2 separate regions of the Homo sapiens genome follow, and region 2 is linked to region 1. The links are contacts of gene promoters, found by promoter capture Hi-C in human tissues and cell types (Jung and others, 2019). All regions are on one chromosome and are shown on one strand. The core of a region is centred on a gene start or on the middle of the fragment in contact, and the rest is flanking DNA. Distances in the headings are between cores, read along the strand shown. Region 1 holds the start of FERD3L (Fer3 like bHLH transcription factor). Region 2 has its middle 110 kb from the start of ABCB5.

What was found. Contacts are between HindIII fragments. The study calls those that stand out against the background at their distance.
Region 2: a fragment that was not itself captured here is called in contact with the fragment with the promoter of FERD3L in region 1 in 1 of the 25 tissues and cell types used here (dorsolateral prefrontal cortex).

Annotation. Positions count from the first base shown.
Region 1 is chr7:19,143,012-19,149,272 of GRCh38, forward strand. It overlaps FERD3L (Fer3 like bHLH transcription factor), which reads right to left and starts at 2,410. Exons shown (of 1, transcript NM_152898.2): 1 at 1,771-2,410. The coding sequence starts at 2,351. The coding sequence ends at 1,851. RefSeq lists enhancers at 1,143-2,342, 2,808-3,456. The HindIII fragment of the contact is 11,409 bases long and covers 1-6,261 here.
Region 2 is chr7:20,507,153-20,513,413 of GRCh38, forward strand. No RefSeq gene overlaps it. Among named protein-coding and RNA genes, the nearest start is that of ABCB5, 110 kb to the right of the region's middle. The HindIII fragment of the contact is 3,595 bases long and covers 931-4,525 here.

The DNA.
Region 1 (6,261 bases), core at 1,160-3,659:
AGGCATTTACAAGAATGCTCTTAGCAGCATCATTTATTTTTTAAAAAGGAAATAGCTATCTATCTGGAAAGGGCTGGTGGTGGTGTGATACATGGATAAGACAATAAGATATGGTAATCAAAATCACATTTGAATAATATTAAAGTTAAGGGAAAACATTGCACCTTCTATAATGCCAAGTGGAAAAATATCAGTATCCCAAAGTATCTCGAATTAGTAAAATATATTGAATTTATAACTGCACAGGGAAAAAAAGACTGGAAAGAAATAGATGAAAATGCTAACAGTATGGTAACGTGGAGTGATTCGAATTTTCTCTTTTTTGAAATTTTTTTTTCCAAAATTTCTAGGATGAGTATATGTTACTTATTAATGAAATGAATTCTATTTCCGAAAGCATGATTAAGAGAATTGTGTGTTCGCACAGGCTCCCGCCTATTTCTGTGTGCAATGAGGGGCGAAATAAAGTGTTGGAATAATCACTGGGGATTATCCTTTAGGATTACTGAATTTATGTTTAGGTTGGCATTATTCAATCGGGTTCCTCGCCTCAGTTACCCACTCCTTTCTGAAAGACCCCAGTTCTGGTACTAGCACGTCACCTAGAAGGAAGAATCCTGGAATGGCACGGGTCCAAACTAGAGGCGGCCTCTCAGCATGGACCCGCTTCAACCTCATCTGCATGGCAGGCGTTTTGCAAGGCGTCAGAAGGCATCTCCTCTTTGGACTTTTTGTCTCCCCTGGTAGTCTCTAGAAGCCATTAGAGTGAAAGCTATCTTTCCTACCTACAGCTAAAAATGTAAAAGTGAGCGCGCTCAGGCGGCCCTGCTCCTAGAAAGATCCAGGCCCCTTCATACCCCAACCCCTGGCCGGGGACAGTTGGTAGCGGTGGCTGGTGGCGAAGCTGCAGGGCGCCCAAGGCCCCCTGCGGCCCAGGAGTGACCCGAGTGCACTCGCCCCTTACTCTGGCCTGGGGCCTGAAGAAGGCACTGGAACACGGAAGCTGATGCTGCACTTTAGATGCAAAGCGTAGATTTGCACTCTGGCTAAGGCACTGAATGAACACCACTGTGGCCCTGGGACAAGGAGCTGTGGTCCGTCTGGGATCAACTAGGTGGCGAAGGGGAGGGAGAAAGGAAGAGAGAGGGCTTGCGCGCGGGAGAGAGGAAGGGACGGGAGGGAGAGGGAATGGAAGACAGGAAGGGTGTCCCTTCTCAGAGGTCGCACTTTGTCAGCAGTTCCTCTCGACTGCTCTGCCTTCCATTTTTCCTTTCCTCAGTTCCTGGACAAGCCTCGGAGGACCAGGCAGAACCCTCTGGCTAGCAGAAAAGCTCGCACCCCCGCACCCTTGCGGCGTCTGCTTCAGACCCTCCACGCAGGCGCCCGCTGGAGCGCCTGCTGGGGATGGCGTACCACCGACCCTTCAGGCTTTTTAAAAACGTAAGAATTTCTACTTTATTATCTCTATGAAAAAAAAAATGTAAAGAAGAGAGGTTAGATTTTATAGAAGCTCCAAAGTCTGCCATTTGCGAGGAGGGTTCACTTCCCACCCACCCAGCCCACGGAAGCTCTTAGGAGCAGCCTGAACGGCCCCGACTCAGCCTCACGCTCTCTGACTTCCCCGCTCGCCCCTGACCCCGACTTCACTTAGGGCGGTCGCGTAGATATGAACTCTACAGCAGCCACTCTGCTCAGCGCATGTGGGGATCTTACAATCTCGACCCCGACCTCCAGAAGACCAGACGTTCTGTCTTGGGGCCTCCCTCCCGGCCCTTTAGCCTCACCCAGTGCCCGGTCCTGACACACCCCAGCACTACCAGACGAGGAAGGGCAGACTCTCCACACCAGGCTCAGCCGCTTTCCTTCTTCTCACAGCTCTCCAAGAGCTCGGTCATGAAGGAGATATAGACGATGGCCAGGCGGAGGGTCTCGATCCGGGACAGCCTTTTCTCGTAAGCAAACGTGGGCACCTTCCTCCGCAGCTGGTCAAAGGCCTCGTTGAGGTTGAACATCCGCTTCCTTTCGCGGATGTTGGCGGCCTGGCGCTGGGCGTAGGTGATCACCCTTTTCCTCTTGGGGCGGCCTAATAGGGAGACACCTCTTCCGCGCTCCTCTTCCTCCTCCTCTTCTCCGTCCCCCTGGTCCACTTCGCACTCCTCTTCTTCTGGGTCCCCCTCTTCAAACCGCGCCATCCTCCTGGGTCTTCCCTCTCGGAGCGCAAGGGCTGGGTCCCCCAAGGAGACCCCGGGTGCGAAGTCGCAGAGGAGAGGGCGTCTCGGGGAGGCCAGGGACAGGTCTGCGACGAAGTCCAGCACCGTAGTGTCCACGCAGCTCTCCGGATAGGCCGCCATCGCTTCGGCTTGGCCCTGCCTCTCATCGGTTTTCCGCAGGGAGGGGCGAGGTTGCTGGTGGGGATTCTTAACAGCCTTGAATCTGATGGGGCACCATCACCGAAAGGCCAGGGAACATTAAATATTTATAACCAAGCTGATAACAGGATTAGTCGCACCGATAAGGAATGCTCTGACAACGTCCCTTCTCTCGAAGCTTATGGAAGATGACAAGCTTGAGCACGCATGGAAGACTCAAAGGGACAGGGCTCCAGTTCTGAGATCCTTTTCTCTGCGCCACCCGGGACAGTTCCTTGTTGGCAACAACCCCCAGCTCTTACCTGCTGTGCTTTTTGTGTCTGTCTTCACCCCTGCAGCCAACTAATGTTCTCCAGGCTCCTTATCTCGTGTAGTTCTTTAATTTCGTGTTGGATTTTCAAAGCGAGGATGTTTTCCACCGCGATGGCTTCTCCTTGACTTCAGGGTAGGAGTCTTGAATCTTGCCACCATCTGCCAATGGATGTGGAGCAAGTGCATGTGCTTTTAATGATGTCCTGAAGAGGGGCCCTGCCTGCCTGGCATCAAGGGGAGCTGTTTGTCTGGTATCCCAGTGCAGCGGCTGCTGAAAGGCAAGACCTTCAATTAGCTTAAGTAAGCATGGCAGGGGGACCGAGAGTGCATTCCCCAGAGTCGCTGTTGGAACCGGCTTTCTTTTCTTTCCAGGGCATCGCAAACAGCTCTCCTGCCACGTTACAAACCCTGACTTCTAAAGTCTGTTTGGATGCAATCAGCGTAACAATTGAGATACTTGACTTTCCTTTCCCTACCTTTACCTCCTACTCATATAAAATAGAGGATTTTATTCCAAGAGGAAAAGTTATGATGGCAATAAAATGAGAAATTTAAGCTCAGGATATTTTCTATGCTCGGGCTTTGCTGTATACTTTTCAGTGTGGGGGACAAAGCAAACTCTCCTCACAAACAAAACCACTTCAAGCTCTTTTCAGAAATGCGATTTGCCCTTGATAAGCCAAAGAGTCAATCAGCTCACCCTCTGCTGAGGAGTCTTCGGACTTTTAAATTGCGGATCGAGTATTTGTTCCCGAACAAAGAAAAAAACCTAACACTTCCATCTGGCGTATTTTCCTCATTGATTTGTATTGTCCTACAGTAAGACTTAAGTGCAGAAACAATGATTTATTGAAATATATTTAAGGGAGTTTTTGGCTATCGTTAGATCGTTATTTTTGAGAAAAGAAAGAGATTTTAAATTTGGCATAAGAAAAATAAGAGATTACTCATTTTATATTATCTCGAGTATCCCAAATATTTTAACAAAAAGGTTCTTTTTCTTTGTTTGCCAATAACTATATTTACTTAATTATTCAGTACTGTGTAAAGATTTATTTAAAAGACCCATTGTGTCAAAGTGACAGATTAGAAGATAATTTTAAAGGTAGATTGGAAGAAATAGCCTAAAAAGATGAATGTAGAAACATCCCGGTTCAAAAGAGAACTGCCCAGGACGTCAGTCCCTATTAAGGGGGTAAGTTGTGGTTATGATGGTTCACTCAGTACATTGGACAGCTCCCAGAAACCAGAAACCGCCTATTTCTAACAGGTAATCTCAATTCATTTTCTTCTTCCTAGCCTCTATGTGTGTAATCAAAACAGTATAACCTTTAATTCTTCTTCTTCTTTTAACCCATTTGTGTCTGGTGTCTCTCGATCTTTTAATAGATTTTATCTTCTTTTGCTTGTGTTTACTCTTCATTCTCCAGTTTGAATTGTGATAACTCAGGCAGAGAATAATTGAAATTTGTGATCCTGGAAGATGTTAAAGAGAATGAGATCTTTGGTTGTTACTTAGTTGATTTTTGCTAAGCATCTTTCAAAGGGAAGGCTGAAAAATAAATAATAGGATTGTCAACAGTGGCTATGAAGCTAGTAAATGGGAGAACTGATTTTTGTTTCAAAAAAGTAGTAACATGCTTGCTAACCCTCGTTTAAATTAATATGTTATTAAATATTTGGACAAATTTCTTGTTGATTTTTAAATTATGTTAAATGCTTCTCAGTGACTTATTTTGTATTCATTTACAATCTATTTGCAAGTGGATTAAACACCTCAGTCAATTGAGAATCTAGTTTCGCAATATAATACACTGGAAAACAATGAAGGAAAACATGGTTGATATTTAAATTTAAAATTTCATAAAATGGGGGTCAGAAGCCTTCATGAGACTAAAGAGATAGTTTCATTGGACTGAACTCCTTTATGATTTTAGCCAAGGCAATGTACCTTTCTTGCTTGCCTTCCTTCCTTCCTTCCTTCCTTCTTTCTTTCCTTCCTTCCTCTCTCCCTCCCTCCCCCTTACTCCTTTTTCTTTCTTTCTTTCTTTCTTTCTTTCTTTCTTTCTTTCTTTCTTTCTTTCTTTCTTTCTTTCTTTCTTTTTCTTTCTTTCTTCTTTCTTTCTCTTTCTTTCTTTCTTTCTTCTTTCTCTCTTTCTTTCTTTCTTTCTTTTTCTTTCCTCCTTCTCTCTTTCAACAGAGCCTCACTCAGTCATCGAGGCTGGAGCGCAGTGCTACAATCATAGCTTACTGTGCCTCAAACTCCTGGGCCCAAGCAACTCTCCTGCCTCAGCCTCCCGAGTACCTAGGACTGCAGGCACTGGCCACCTCATCAAGCTAAAGGTTTTGTTCTTTAGAGAGGAGGTCTAACTATTTTGCTCAGGCCTCAACCAGTCCTCTCACCTTGACCTCCCAAAGTGCTGAGATTACTGGCCTGAGCCACTGCAGCTGGCAGAGAATGGAGATTTCAATAATCATATCACAAAAGGAACTGTAGCAAAAGTAATGGAACCAGTGCCTAGAACTGGGTTGAAATACTTGTATTAAAGTATTAGGAATTTTTTAAATGTCCTAATAGGTACACCTACAGCAATTATTTTAAAATATTTTCTTTTTTATTTCATCATAAAAATCCCAGGATAAACACTTCTGTTTATACCACCTTAATTTCTGTTTATCTTACAAGGTTATAATCATGCTAATATAATTAAAGCAAAAAATGTTAAAATCTAAGTTATGAGTGTTTTTATTTATAATTATAATTAGTTATATAAATTAACAGTTACAGTTATTTCATTTATAATTATAATTAATTATAGGAATAACTGAAATTCTTTTTCTCTGCTTATTGTGAAATGGTCATTTTATTTTTAGAAGACTTTTGTGGGTATTTGGTTCCACAGTAAATATATATGGCAAAAGCAGTAAATTTATAAAGTACCAAGTGATGTTACAGTTCATCCTATTGGAAGGAATCATTATTTTCATTTCTAGATTTGAAAGTTAAGAGAGAGATGTTTTTTAAAAACTCAATTGAGGATTAAAAGAAGCTAAGTTCAACCTTGATTCCTCTGTGTTCTAGGCCTATAGTTTACAGTTATTCAGTGACCTATAGGGAGGCATTTATAAAAAGTTTGATAACTCCTCACAAATTTTACTCAAAATATTTCAAGAAATGATTATGAAATGACAATCAGTTTTGCTTATTTGATTATCTAGTTTATTTCTATTGACCATTCCTATTAGACATAAAACATTTTGTTTATACTATTAAACTGTTCAGAATCAAAGCAAAAAGAAAAAAAAATGACCAAGAATAACTTAAGCAGTAATTCTTGAATGAGCTGAAGCCTGGGTTTAATGGTGCAAAGGGGAGAAAGGTAGATAAATAAAGCATCCAGGGAGTAAAGCAAATATATAAATCCCCCCAATTAAAAAAACCCTACCTTTCCTTCCTCATGTCCCTTCCTCTTTTATTCCAGAAACATTAACTTTTAGGGCAAATGATAAAGATATGACGAAGCTAGATGTCTGTGATGATTGTAGGAGAAAGGCATAAGAAGTACTCCTTCCGCTGACC
Region 2 (6,261 bases), core at 1,478-3,977, 1.4 Mb after region 1:
GGTGAGGCATGGGGATATTTGGTGGTAAGAGATGAATCGGAATGGCTTTTTTCCCCAAAGGTCCTCTGCTACCTACTAGATCTGGAGGTACATAACACAATGATGAAGAATTCAGAAAGTCACAATAAGAACAACTAAAGTACATTTAATCACAGCCCTGCCCTTGAAAATACCCACCTGGCAAGCATAATGCTATACTGTGACTTTACAAGAAGTAATCATTCAATCTATCCTTGTAACAGCCAGGAAATGAGTAAGATGTTAAATACAAGTCACATCTTTTGTTAAAAATCTCCTGTATACATAGAACACTACAGAAATATATACCACACCAGAAAAAAGTTCAAAATTATTTTTCTCCCATGCTAGTTTATATGTAGTTTTGATAGTAAGTTAAAAAGGTATATACAACAGTTTTGCATTTTTCATAAACTATGGAAAAGTATTCATGCATTTGTTCATCCAAACAATGTTTATTGAATTTCAATATTTATAAGCAAAATATGGAAATCAGTGACAAACAAGATAGGCAAAATCTCTATGTTTATAGCCAAGAATACAGAGTCTCATCATAATTAATTAAGAAGTAGATATTTAATTATAATAGGTGCTACAAAGGAGAAGAGTAAGATGTAATTAAATATCTTACATGAGGATCTGACCTAGTCTAGGAGTCAGGTAAGACTTCCTTGAGGAAATGTCTTTTGAGCTGAATTCTAAGGAATCTTTAAAATTTATTGAGGCAAAAACTGGACAAGAACTTATCAGAGAGAGAGAATAGCTTGTGTGAAAGCACTGAGCTGGGAGCAAGCACAATACCTTCCAGAAAATGAAAAATCCAAATGTGGTTGAAGCTCAGTGAAATGGAACAGAGGAACAAAGGATAGGTTGGATTAGGGAGGAAAGTGTCAAATCCTGCAGGGTCCTGCAGGTCAGATCGAGGATTTGATCTTGAAGATGTACTGGTTATTCTTCATGTTGTCTGCTCAGCTCTGTTATTCATGATGACCCCTGCAGTGAATTACCCAATTTCCTTGTTCTGTTTCCAGTTAGGTTCCAACAGGAGGCACTGACGCATCAGAGACTGGAGGAGAGATGAAACTCAAAAACTCAAGGTACTTCCGCTCCACTTCCTCCCTGTTTCATGGCAGTATCGCTAGTGGTGATTTGTCTCTCCACAATTACCACTCCTGCTGTGTGCTCCGTCCTCCTTGGGATAGCTCTCAAAGATCTCTAGTAATAAAACTTCTTCCCCTTCTCCCTTCCCCCTTCCCCCTGAGGGTAGTAGCAAATAACTTTCACTTCTGTCTTTATGTTCCTCAGTGTCTCCTATTGGTCCTCTTAACTGCAACCACACTGTAAAGTGATTCTTTTATTATAATCTCTATATTTGAACTTTTTGAGCTGAAGTCTGTTTCCTGCTGGGATCATGACTGACCCTTCACAGTACAGCCAAAATCTATTTGTACTTTTCAGTTGATCACTCTGGCTGTTGTGAGGAAAATGGATTGGATTGGAGTGAGCGAGAGTAATGCCAGGAGATGGAGAGAACTGGACCATCTACTTGGGAAGGAAAAGTCAAGATTTGGTCATAGAGGGCCATAGTCAAGATGGGCTATAGAGGTGAATAAGAGAGAAGATTCAACAATTGCTCTGTTCAGTAATCAAAAGAAACAAATACTGGTTTCAAGGAATCAGAAAATGCACATGTTCCAAAATTGCTTACGATACTGATAAGGATGACTGGAAACATCTTAAGCCTTTCTTCTGGTCCATATCTGCAAACTTTCTATATCTTGAATCCTGCAAAAAGTTTTAAAACCAGGCCCCCCAAAAACTTAAAAATAGCATTTTAGCATCAGGCAATATTTGCAGAGTACCTATGTGCAAGGCACTCTGGAAGATACTAAAAAGAGTCATCAAAGAAGAATGGTTAGGAATCTGGACTCTGAAAGCAGACTACCTTGGTTTAATTAACAGCCATGGATTTGCAGAAAAGAAGAGAAAGAAGGAAGGGAGACAAGGGTAAGCCACAAGGAGGGTAATGGGAAAACCTTGCTTATCCTTTACTCCCTTCCTAAACATATGTCTCTCTTCCTTTTCTGGTAACCTATCTCTTTGGTACATATTTATATATAAAGTTGTAGTCCAAATGGTAAGTGATCTGGAGGGATTTTCAGGAAATAACATAATAAGAAACAATGTTTTGAATTTTGAGGGCTGTGAAGTGTTCCGAAATGATTTTCAAATGGCTAAACTTAGCTAACTTATTGAGCTCTTTTTGTATCAGGGACTATGCTAAGAGCTTTACAGATAAGCATATTAACCCATTTATGCTGGAGGTTGCAAATTTTTGTGTGTGTGTGAGAAATCAGACCTTGATGATGACCTTGAGCAGTAGGATATAAATAATTCCCACAAGCTTAGCATTCCAATAATGGAACACTAGGCATAAAGGGGTTATCTCATAATGCTTCCAACACCTCTATTTCCTTTCTCACAAAGGAAAGCCTACAGATACCAATGTATTTGAAATGGTTTTGATTTAGTCCTACCTAAGAGAAAGGAAGTTTCTACTAAACGGCAGAGCATGAGACATTTAATGCCTTCTTTTATTCTTGCTATGCCTTTTACACCTTTAGAGTTAGAAAGGACTCTAGGGATTAATTATTCCAAATTCTCAACTCCTTCTGTATCTCACAGATATAAAAACTAAGTCCCAGAGTACTGAGTACCAGGTTAAATTAACTAATAATTATCTGAGGTGGCACTTGAATTAACGATCTCACCATTCTCTTAAAGATTCAGTAATATGTTAGCTATCTGCATAGAAGTGCTGTGTAATCTTCCCCAGTCTTCTAGAATCATGTTTCAAAACTTTAATTATATCCAAATTTAAATTATATTTTGTTAAATAATTTTTGCTTCCATCAGCATTCTCTTTTTAAGATTACCTAGATTGCTATGATAGGAAAAATAACATCTTATAAGCCATGAACCTACATGTCAATAACAGTTAACATTCCACTTGGAAAAGCAAACTACTAAAGCCGAAATTGAGCAAGCTTCTAAGAAAGCCAATGCATGTATTTTATATCAAAGTGACTAAAGATAAATTCACAATCTTTTATAAACTACAGTTTTACTAAATTTGTTCGTCTTTGCTCTCAGAGAGTAGACTTGAGAAAATTCATTTTTAACCATATGTTATTTGCATCTGTGTGGTAGGGACAGCTGCATATTAATTCAATTACCTTTCTTTTTCTTTGTGGGCACACAGCTCCCAAGGGATGTTTCCCAGCTTTCCTTGCAGCTGAGAGTAAGGTGGAATAGTAACCGATACCTCAAGAAAGAAGTATGCATATTTTTCAGTTTTCAGTCTCTCTTTTTCCTGCCTCCACATTATTTTTAGACCATTGCAAGAGAGTGCTAGAGACAGAAGGTCCTGTTTCTTGAAGGACAATTTGCTTTTGTCTTCTCATCTCTGACCTATTGCAATCAGCTCTAAACATCCTTCTCATATTCCATCCTTCACACTCTCTTTCTTTTCCTCTCTCATCTCTTCCTCTCTTCATCTTTTCTATTGTTCATGTGCAACTTTGTAATCTATCGTCATGGTAACAAGTATTATGTCTGGCCCAGAGCCACGTGAAGACAGAGCAGCTTCTATCTTTGGTGTGTCTCCACTTTTGCTTTGTTCATCTCTTTACCTATTTGATATTTTACCCCAGTCAGCCCCTCTCGGGCTTCCATGATGACCCAGTACCTTCTTTTCTCATTCCAAGAGACCCCCATTATGGGTCTTTCTTCTTTCTCAGGGATACTGGAAATAACATGGATCAATCTTTCCTTCATGGCAGGCTTTTTATTCAAAACAAGATTTTATTGTGTGGTATTCAGTTTCTTCGGGTTTGCTAAGTGGTTTGAAGAAAGACAATAAACTAAACTCATCTCTGCTGTAATTTTAATGGCCTACTGTGTTTTTTCTCCTTATGGGGTTGTTTTTTAACACTGGATTCTCAGATTTAAATACAATGAATGCATATGTAATGATGGAATTCCAGTGTGATTGGCCAAGATGAGAATTTGGAATATTTAATTGTATTACCATCCTCGACTTTTGGCCAGTAGGCAGGTTTGCATTGCTGTACATTGCTGCTTACTGTTTTACTTCCTCTAATGTATTCTATACCAGTGCTTCTCAATCTTTAACAGATGTCAGAAGTTTTTAGAGAGGAGGTTGAAATCCAGATTCCTGAACATTATAGCCACAGATTCTGATTCAGTAGTTTTGGAGTGAAGCCCGTTAATTTGTATTTGTTAAAAAAAAAAAAAAAAAAAGGAAAAAAAAGCTCCCATGATATATTAATACTGGTGGTCTGATGACGACACTTTGAGTAGTCTACAATGCAACTTGAAGCTCACAGAAGCCCCGAGAAGAAAAGTCTGATAAATTTCTAGTTGAAATAAGACACAATCAAAACTGGCTCAAATTTCAATATTAACCTTTTGAACAGAAACATTGCTATATCATATAATCCTACAGCTAAAATTGAATATACTAAGTCAAGATGAGGAAACAGATCTACAGACCTGGGAAGATTGTTTCATATCTTAAGAGAGACAGAAAAAAATGTAGGGGTATGTATAGAAGGGAATGTTTTCAAAGACGGCCAGAACAGTATCTTCCATCACTCTTTTGCAATGTTACTTTACTATTAGACCTTCAAGAAGTGATACTTTTTTGCCTTCCCCTTGAATCTGGGCTGACCAGAAGGCAATGTTTGACCGATAAAGTGCAATGGAATTGAGATTGTGTAACTCCAAGGCAGAGCCTTAAGAGAACTTCAATGTCTACCATTATCTCTTACTCAGATAAAAGCCAGCGCCAATTCTCAATCATGTGAGTGAAGCCATTGTGGATCTTCCGGCTCCCCCAGAGACCTAACCAACAATACAGGAAACAGAATGGCCTGTCAACCCACAGAATTCTGAAAAATAATCAATTGTTGTTTTAAGTCACTGACAGAAAGGGAAGTTTGCTTTGTAGTAGGTAGATTTGCAGATAACTGCAGTGATGGGTGTCCAGACCTCTCCTCCAGTAGTCTGTATATTTCACTATATATACTGTCTTCTCATTCTCCTTTCTCCTACTTCTCATTTGTTCAGTCAACCAATGCATTTTAAAGCATTTCAAGTATTCCAGATACTACCAACTCAAAGGTTAATAAAAACACACTTGTTACCACTCTCATCAACCTCATAATCAAGAATAGAAAATAGACTAAACAATTGTCACATATTTTGACCAAAGTACTAATATAACTAGTACAGAAGTGGTAAATAGAAACAGTGTGTGTGTGTGTTTATTTGTGTGTGTGTGCATGTGTATATTTTTAGTGGTTACAGAATCATGCATGGGAGAGGAAGAGAAGGTATTATTAAGGAATTGGTGCCTGAACATTATCATAAATTATATACCAGACAGATGAAGGCAATGAGAGAGTAATGTAAATTCACTATCATACCTTTCTCAAATGTATTACTTTTGAATTTTGGTATCACTAACTACTCAAATAGTACATACAGATGTACGATTATATTAATGTGTATATTTACCTTGATTATATCACTAAAGTTATCATTCTCTATAAAAAGAGTATCAGAAGATAAAACACATTTCCGCTTGTATTCTCAATATTTCTCTCTCTAAAAATCTATTCAAAAAGCTGTTTTATTTGCTATTAATGTTCACTTAAATCATGGATTAAATGACAAATCAAAAGATTATGGAAAATCTATGGGTTCCTTCATCAGGAATGGGTAATCAAAATGCCCTTGAATAATTTATAATTGAGGTAGGCTCTTTATTGATTCGAGTTTCATTTAAGACGAGAGAAACCTGTAATACAGAATAGAACGTATCACTAGCTATTCCTGTGGCTTAAAAACTGTCTGGTGATCTGAAAAGTAAGGCAGATTAAGCTTCAGGCAGAATATCCAAGAAGTGTCCAGCCCCAGAAATTGTCTCACTGCTGCTACACCCAGGGACATTGCACCTACCAATGAAGAAAGTTGCTGAAAATCAGGAAATTGGTGGCTCAGGTCTATGCTGCCTGTGTCACCACCTGAAGAGCAGAATTATGGTCTCTATCCTAATTAACTTAGTTCAAAATTCAAGTTGACCATCAAAGTACCAGATTGGAGGACCCCAAATCACAACTGAAATCTTAGCCACAAGGACATCTGAGAAATGCTTTA